Linked DNA regions of Homo sapiens: region 1 is linked to region 2. Evidence: promoter capture Hi-C in 16 types of primary human blood cells and fetal thymus (Javierre and others, 2016). All regions are on one chromosome and are shown on one strand. The core of a region is centred on a gene start or on the middle of the fragment in contact, and the rest is flanking DNA. Distances in the headings are between cores, read along the strand shown. Region 1 overlaps LOC105379364 (a long non-coding RNA gene). Region 2 holds the start of KCNU1 (potassium calcium-activated channel subfamily U member 1).

Region 1 (3,605 bases), core at 827-3,326, 3.0 Mb after region 2:
GAAATCTGTTGTGACCACCTTGCCCACCAAGCAGAACAATCCACCCATGATATGTGTCAGTTTATAATTTATAGTTGACCCATAAAATGGAGGACATCTAGGGAAAGAAATAAAAAATAGAGAGGAAAAGAAGGAGGGAGGAAAGGAAAAGATCAGTCTGACAGGGAATTAAAACAAGAAGGGTTTATTGAGATAATGTGAGTTAAGTCTGGAGTTTAAGATCAGGGGTTGCCAGAGATAAGCACAGGAAGATGAGGAAAAGAAGAAAAAAATTAAAGAGAATCAAAACTCTGCTTCTCAAGCCCATGCTCTGCCAATAATTTATTCTTTAGAAATAAAAAAGGCAGACAGATCAGAAGATGGGAGAAAATCAACACAAAAGTGGAGGTGTCAACCTGAGCAGATTTCAAACTGAAACAAAGAATTTATATGATTAGCTGCAGTTACATAGAGATGTATAAACATCTTGGGCAAAACGATACCAAGCAAAACTCTAGCACTTCATGGTGCCGTATGTGTAGTTTAGTCTTTTGATATCTATTTTATATTCTGCCAGCAAAAATTTTGTCATATCTTATGTGTTTTGCCAAGTTCTTTATTTGGGATTCTTCCTGATTTAAATATTTTTAGCTGCAGTGGTTTTTTAATCATGAGGGTATTGTTTCAAAAGGAATTATTTTATATGCATCCAAAAGCAAAATTGAAGACCAATTCAAATTCATCTGAGATCATCCTATAAGTGCAGGACACTATGGAAAAACACAGAAAGCTGACCTTGAGAACTGTCATATGAAGGGATCTCAGATTTCTGTTACAAAAACACAGTTAGTGGGTGGCCTTTGCTGATGCCTCCCGATGATGTTGATTGAAGATGGCAAATTGCAACTTCATCTGTGTTCATCAGAAAATAAGGCCCATTCACTCTTCCCACCCTGAAATCCAGCCCCTTTGCAATTAGCCAGCTTTCTCAGTGGCCTACAATTTGGATAAGAGGAGCATGAATGCATGACTTTCTAGAAAGAAATATAATGTCTTGCCATGTCATTGTTTCTCTAAGGAAGCAGTACCACCCTTGATTTGGGGCTTAATGGCTCAGAACTAGCACCTGGAAGAAAAAAGAATTAAAACTTCAAGACAGATGTAATTCAGAACTTTCCCTTGGTGGGTATCTTCCTCTCAAGCTCTGTCTGTAAGGGCGGGGAAGGGGGCAAATGCATCTGTTCATGGAGATAGTTGCTAATGGGTAATTTTCTGCTTGTCCCCAAGCCCTACAGTCCTTTACCCCCCAAAACATTATGTAGAAAGAGAGAGTCAAGCTCAATATGGCAAGAGAAACATAAACACAACTGTTAGGCAATAGAGCAGCACCCCCTAAAGGCTTGGCTGTAGGGACACCTTGGTTTTTCAAACCTACATACAGACATTGGGTTGCTTCATTCCTCATATATTTAAGTTGATCCAATAAAGGCATTGTTCAGAGTGGAAATGTGTAGTACGACCAATGCAGTCCTTTTTTACAGCTAACCAATTATGGGCTAAAAGAACAATGCGAAGTCTCTTTTCCAATTGTTCGTAGGAGTGTGTTCATTCCAAGCCATTACCGCATGTGTCTGTCAGAGGGAATCTCTGCATCAGGCTGTAATGAGTCACATTAGCTTTTTTTCCGCAACAAAGCATTACATGGCCTGGCTCTATGACAGCTCAGAGATTATGGTTCAGGGAGCAGCTTTAAATCTAGCTCTCTTTCTTTCTAGAAAATCCAACGAGGCTGCAGTTATCAGGGCAGCTCTTAAAACCACAGGCAAGGAAGGAGGAAGAGTCTATCAGCACTTTGGGAGGCCAACGCAGGTGGATCACTTGAGCTCAGGAGTTCGAGACCAGCCTGGGCAACATGATAAAACCCTGTCTCTACAAAAAAATACAAAATTAGTCAGGCCTGGTGGTGCATACCTGTAGTCCCAGCTACTAAGGAGGCTGAAGTGGTTCTAGGGACGCAGCTCTAGAAGGATGTAGACAGGCACTGCTGCCTGCAGAAGGAGAGAAGTTCCTGAGAGACAGTTGCCTCAAGGAAAGTGTGTAGTACCATGGGGAGGCAACAAACAGGGAAGCCCAGGGTCTCAACCTACCACATCTCTCTCCAACATTTATTGTCGCCCTGCCTTAGAGTCAAGCAGCAAGCCTTTCCCTAACAAAATACATCATTCGCATTTTGCTGTTCCCTCTTGGGTCACTTTCTGTCTGCCTCTCCAGATCCAGACTCTTCCATTCTCTTCCAGGTTCTTATCCTGATAGCCTGACCTGGATGGTTTCATCCATTTCCCAAGATGGTAGCTTCCTGATTGGGCTCCTGGGTTCATAGGGAAAGAGGGATGAAGCCAGGCAAAAAATCAGAGCAATGGAGCAATGAAGGTGTTTGCTTGTCCTGGCTCCTTCCCTCTGCTCCTTTAGGCTGGTTCTGCCCCCAGCCTGAAGGGCACTGTTCTTTGGAGGTGGCTTCCTCCACACTGGGCTTACTGCTCCTAGGGACCCTTCTTTCCCACTCAATCCTAAGGATCTAATAATAATATCCTATCCTCTCCCCTCACCGCTCCTGCTCCACGTTACTGCACTAATACTTGTAAATAAATCATCCTGTTTAGAGGACACCATCTGTTTCCTGTTGGGACCCTGACTGAAATTCTCTTTTCCTCCTTCTACCTCCTTAGAGATTAGAAAACTAAACCTCAGAGAAGTCAAATTTCTACTTTTCTTTAGATTTACAGCTAAAAAGTAGCAGAATCAGGATCTAAACCCAAGCAGCCTTGTTCCAGAAACTTTTCTTAGAGCCCCTGAACTATGCTGCCTCAATAACACATGAGACTAGAAATGCAATTTTGCTTCTCTGCACCCATCAAAATCCTCCCCATCCCATTCAGTAGGAGTAAAGCTGCCCTCCTCCATGACCTTCTCCTTGACCACTCCAGCTCCATCATTAGTTCATTCCCGTGGAGCATAGTGTCTGTGCCACCCCCAGTACACATACCAAATGCTACTTCATCCTATCCTTTAATTATCCATGTACATATTCTTGTTTCTCCAATGGATAGAAAACCTCCAGTAAGACAGACATCGTGGCTTCCATGTAACCCCCATTGTCCTTAGCCTACAGTAAATACGGTGGCCTGAGTTAGTCAGCAGAACAATGATTGAGAAGGAATTTCCATGGCTATATTATCTGTCAAAAAAAGCAATTGCCCCAGTAATTCATGGATTGTTCTTAAATTTAGATTTTTTAAAAAATGAGCAGTGGAGGCCAGGCATGGTGGCTCACACCTGTAATCCCAGCACCTTGGGAGTCCAAGGTGGGTGAATCACCTGAGGTCAGAAGTTTGAGACCAGCCTGGCCAACATGGTGAAATTCCATTTCTACTAAAATTACAAAAATTAGCCAGGCATGGTGGTGGGCCCCTGTAGTCCCAGCTTGGGAGGCTGAGACAGGAGAATTGCTTGAACCCTGGAGGCGGAGGTTGCAGTGAGCCGAGATTGCGCCACTGCACTCCAGCCTGGGCTACAGAGCGAGACTCTGTCTGAAAAAAAAAAAAAAAAAGTGAGCAGTGGAAGAGAAA
Region 2 (3,818 bases), core at 582-3,081:
TGCACATTTAAGGAGAGAAATTGTAACTCTCCAAATAATTTTTAAAATAACTCTTCACAGTACACCTAGATTTCTGATTTTTTTTTTTTTTTGCATTTGTCCAACTTCTCCAAAGGCTTAGAGAAAAACAGGTCACTCTTAATTTGATGTAATAAAACAAATCATTGAAAAGTAACTCAACTTGATCAAACTCTTTCCTCAAGATTCAAAAGCAGAATGGTACAGCATTCTGGTTGCTCAGGCTCACTTCTTAACATTTTGTAACATTTGCTAAATATTTGTAATTAAAGGGTATACCTGGATCGAAGTGTAGACATAAATTACACCCAAAGTAAGAAATGAAAAATATAGGAAATTGACAAATGTACTGTCACATTTTTGTAATCACACAAAATGAACATAATGGAGAAGAAGAACATTGCCTGGAGCAGAAGACTAAGAAGATTTAAAAATCCTACAAATTCAGTTGTGCATTAACAACAACAAAACAAGGTAGAAACAAGGAGGCAGATCCATCATAGCTATTTACCCATATGTCAGTATCCCAGAATTCTTTCTCCAATTATTGTGCCACAGCTTAAAATCCATAATGTAGAAATAATCAATAGAATAAACTTGTTTAGGAACAAAATCTATAAGCTTCAGTATTGGATAATTTTCAAATATGGAAAACAAAATTCCATATTACCAATAACTTTAAAAACTTATCAATTTATGAATTATATTTTATGTAGGTTTTAGCACTAAAAGAAATGTTTTAAGCAAATTTTCAATATTATGATGCACAGGTGAAATGTGTTGTGTTATGGAAATTGCTATAATCTATCAGAGAAAGAAAGTTTGGGAAGCAAAATTGGAAACAAACTACACAGGGTATAGTAAAACTCTTCACCTTTGACCTCTGGTAATAGAACATCCATTACACAGCATTTGAGAGCTTTATTTCAAGCTCTTAAGCAATGCCTTATCTGTATAATACATCATTTATTCTCATCATCATCATTTGCCAGCTGTTATTCAACAACATCAACTCCTGCTAAGCTTGTTTGGGTATAAGAAATGTCCTTGCATCTATGCCTGGATGGCACAGGCATGTATGCATGGGCTTCTCTGTGTATGTGCAACTCAATGTGTTGTCTTCATATGGTATACAAAAGGCAATGTACACGTCAGTACATATGCATTATGCATGAACAATTTATGAAAGCAAGGTTGATGTTGATGTCTTGTTCCCTTTCACCTCCTTTCTATGACCTAGCACAATTGTCTTGTTAAAATTCGAGATAGAGGCATGGACATAATGTTTATGAACTTTTTTTCAGAACAGTGACCTCTGTTTCCAGAGCTAACATTAATCATTATCCATACAAGACATTGCTTTTTCCAGTGATGGGAGAGAGAAGAGGCTTGGCCCTGTCTCTTCAGGCCTCAGAATGTGGCCTGAGGTCTGGCTTACCACCCTTTCTGAGGCACCAGGCTATAGAAGCTGACTCTGTTAGCTTGAAAAACTGAATGAAGCTTAGATCTTTTACTAAACACAAAACTACCCCAAACTCATCTCTGACTTCACACAGAGGGATCCCTAACAAGGAAACTGACCAAGATAATTCCTGTTCCCTTGATGATTTGCCATTTTTTAACAGATCTCCAGATCAGCCTGAAGATCAACAGGATGATGAGTCCACTGAAGAAGGTCACAAAGGAAGAGAGAATGAATGCTGCTTGGATCTCAGTTGTGCAGGACATTTTTGGCAAGTCTTCCCAAGTTTCATTTCGTAGCTTAGTCTGAAACATGTTCGAGACATCAGTAGACGGAATTGCCAGGTCATTTGATGACGCCGTGGTCGCCTGGTAACAATTCCAGGAATCAGAGTTCACTGTACCACAGTGTTCCAACATTAGGCGTGATAACCAGTGAGAAGTTCCAGGAACAAGGGTCTGCCAATCCCCCGGTGCCAGCTCATGGGTTGTGAATGAATACACAACTGGAGATGGCTGGGGCCTACAATATGAATAGTCAAAAAAATCATAATTCTAGATCGGATTGTTACGACTTTCTCTATGCCTTGAAGAAATCCCATTATCTGTAGCAATGATCAGCTGGTTATCAGTTCAGTTAATGCAGTCAAATAATTTCAAATCAACTCTTTCGGAGTGAAACAACAGCCAACTATGTGTGTGAATGAGTTGGTTCTCTATCTGGGAGGATGCCACGTGCTTAGTAGGCTTGGAAGGACAGAAGAGAGAAGTACTTTAAAGTTTTTGTTTATCCTTTATACAAAGGAGCAGATATGCAGAATGAATAAGTCTAGAAGATCTAGTGTGCAGAACAAAGAACATAATTAATAAAATTATTTGTATTCAGGATTTTTGCTAAAAGAGTAGATTTTAAGGGCTCTTGTTACACGCACACAAAAGATGATTAACTCTGTGAGATGATAGATATATGAATTTGCTTGACTGTAGTCACTGCTTCACTATGCATAAGTTTATCAAAAGAGCATTTTGCGTTTGTACTTGTATGCGGAAGCTAAAACAGTGGATCTCATAAAGATAGAGAGTAGATTCATGGTTACGAGATGCCGGGAAGGGTGGCTGAGGAAAGAAGTTGGATAAAGAGAAGTTGATTAATGGGTACAAATATTTGGTTTGATAGAAGAAATAACATCTAATGTTCTATAGATCAGTGAAGTGACTATAGCTTATGATAATCTATTGTACATTTAAAAATAGCTAGAAGAGAAAAATTTGAATGTTTCTAGCACAAAGAAAATACAAATATGTAAGTTGATTGATATCCCAAGTACACAAATTATGTGAATGTATTAAATTATCACGTGACTTGAAAATATGTGTATCTGCTGTGCATCAATCCAAAGAATATCACGTTGTACTCCTTAATTACACACAATGAAAATCAAGATTATCTTGAAACAGAAAAAAAAAGGTTTTGTTTATTCTTTACATAAGAAAGGCATAGTATAGAGTGCAGGTATTGAAGAAGACAATTTAACTAGTGTGGTCATTGGTTGATTGTTATTTCAGCCCATAAATCCATTCCACTTATCTCTTCTTTATGGAACTCTCCCCTTTCTTGCTTTTATTACTGCCCTGGCAGCAAACCTTTTGGCCCAGCAGAGGTAAAGTTCAGAATGAGAGAAATTTCTTTGATTTTCCCTGATGTTTTCAAAGGTGTAAGAAATGTCATGCCTTTCAGTGTGCACAAGTGGCAGGCAAAATGTCAGAGCCCAGTGGAGGGCCTAGTTCACCCCAGTTATTACCAAGATAACCTGACACCAGGTGAAGAGGCCCAAGAGGAATCATCACGCTGTCCTTGGGAGCCCGCCATGACTCCACACTGTTTGGCAGGCTGTTTCAGAAGATAACTGTAGCATTTCCTAGGACTGCTGCCACAGTTACATTTCCTGCTTTTAAGCTTACCTATCATTTCTACAAAATCCTGTCATTGAGCTAGCTAATAACAAAGGGCGATGTTTAAAAGAACACTGGTCTAGGAGTTAGGAGCCCTGCGTTCCAGCCCAGTCCTTCTATTAAGTTACTGTGTGATTTCTAACAAGTCATTTTAATGTTCGTAGTCTTTTGATTTTATGTGGAAGATAATACCTACTTGATAGAATTATTGTGGGGATTCAAGAAGGTAGTGTGAACATATTTTGAAAAGCATAAAACTCAATATAAGATGCCATTAGCCATTTCAGTTCCTTTTTTGAATGGCATTAATTATAAAGACAGGAGGAGGAAGAAGTAAAGGAAAGGAGGGAGAGAAAGAAGGAAGGAGGGAGGCAGGGAGGGAGGTA

The links. The method cuts DNA at HindIII sites, captures the fragments that hold promoters and counts their contacts. A CHiCAGO score of 5 or more calls a contact.
Region 1: a fragment that was not itself captured here is called in contact with the fragment with the promoter of KCNU1 in region 2 in 2 of 17 cell types (M2 macrophages and endothelial precursors); the score reaches 6.8 in M2 macrophages.

Annotation. Positions count from the first base shown.
Region 1 is chr8:33,798,391-33,801,995 of GRCh38, reverse strand. The region is part of intron 2 of LOC105379364 (a long non-coding RNA gene); the gene reads right to left. Among named protein-coding and RNA genes, the nearest start is that of DUSP26, 200 kb to the right of the region's middle. The HindIII fragment of the contact is 4,467 bases long and covers 1-3,605 here.
Region 2 is chr8:36,782,387-36,786,204 of GRCh38, reverse strand. It overlaps KCNU1 (potassium calcium-activated channel subfamily U member 1), which reads right to left and starts at 1,831. Exons shown (of 27, transcript NM_001031836.3): 1 at 1,600-1,831. The coding sequence starts at 1,794. The HindIII fragment of the contact is 1,918 bases long and covers 1,521-3,438 here.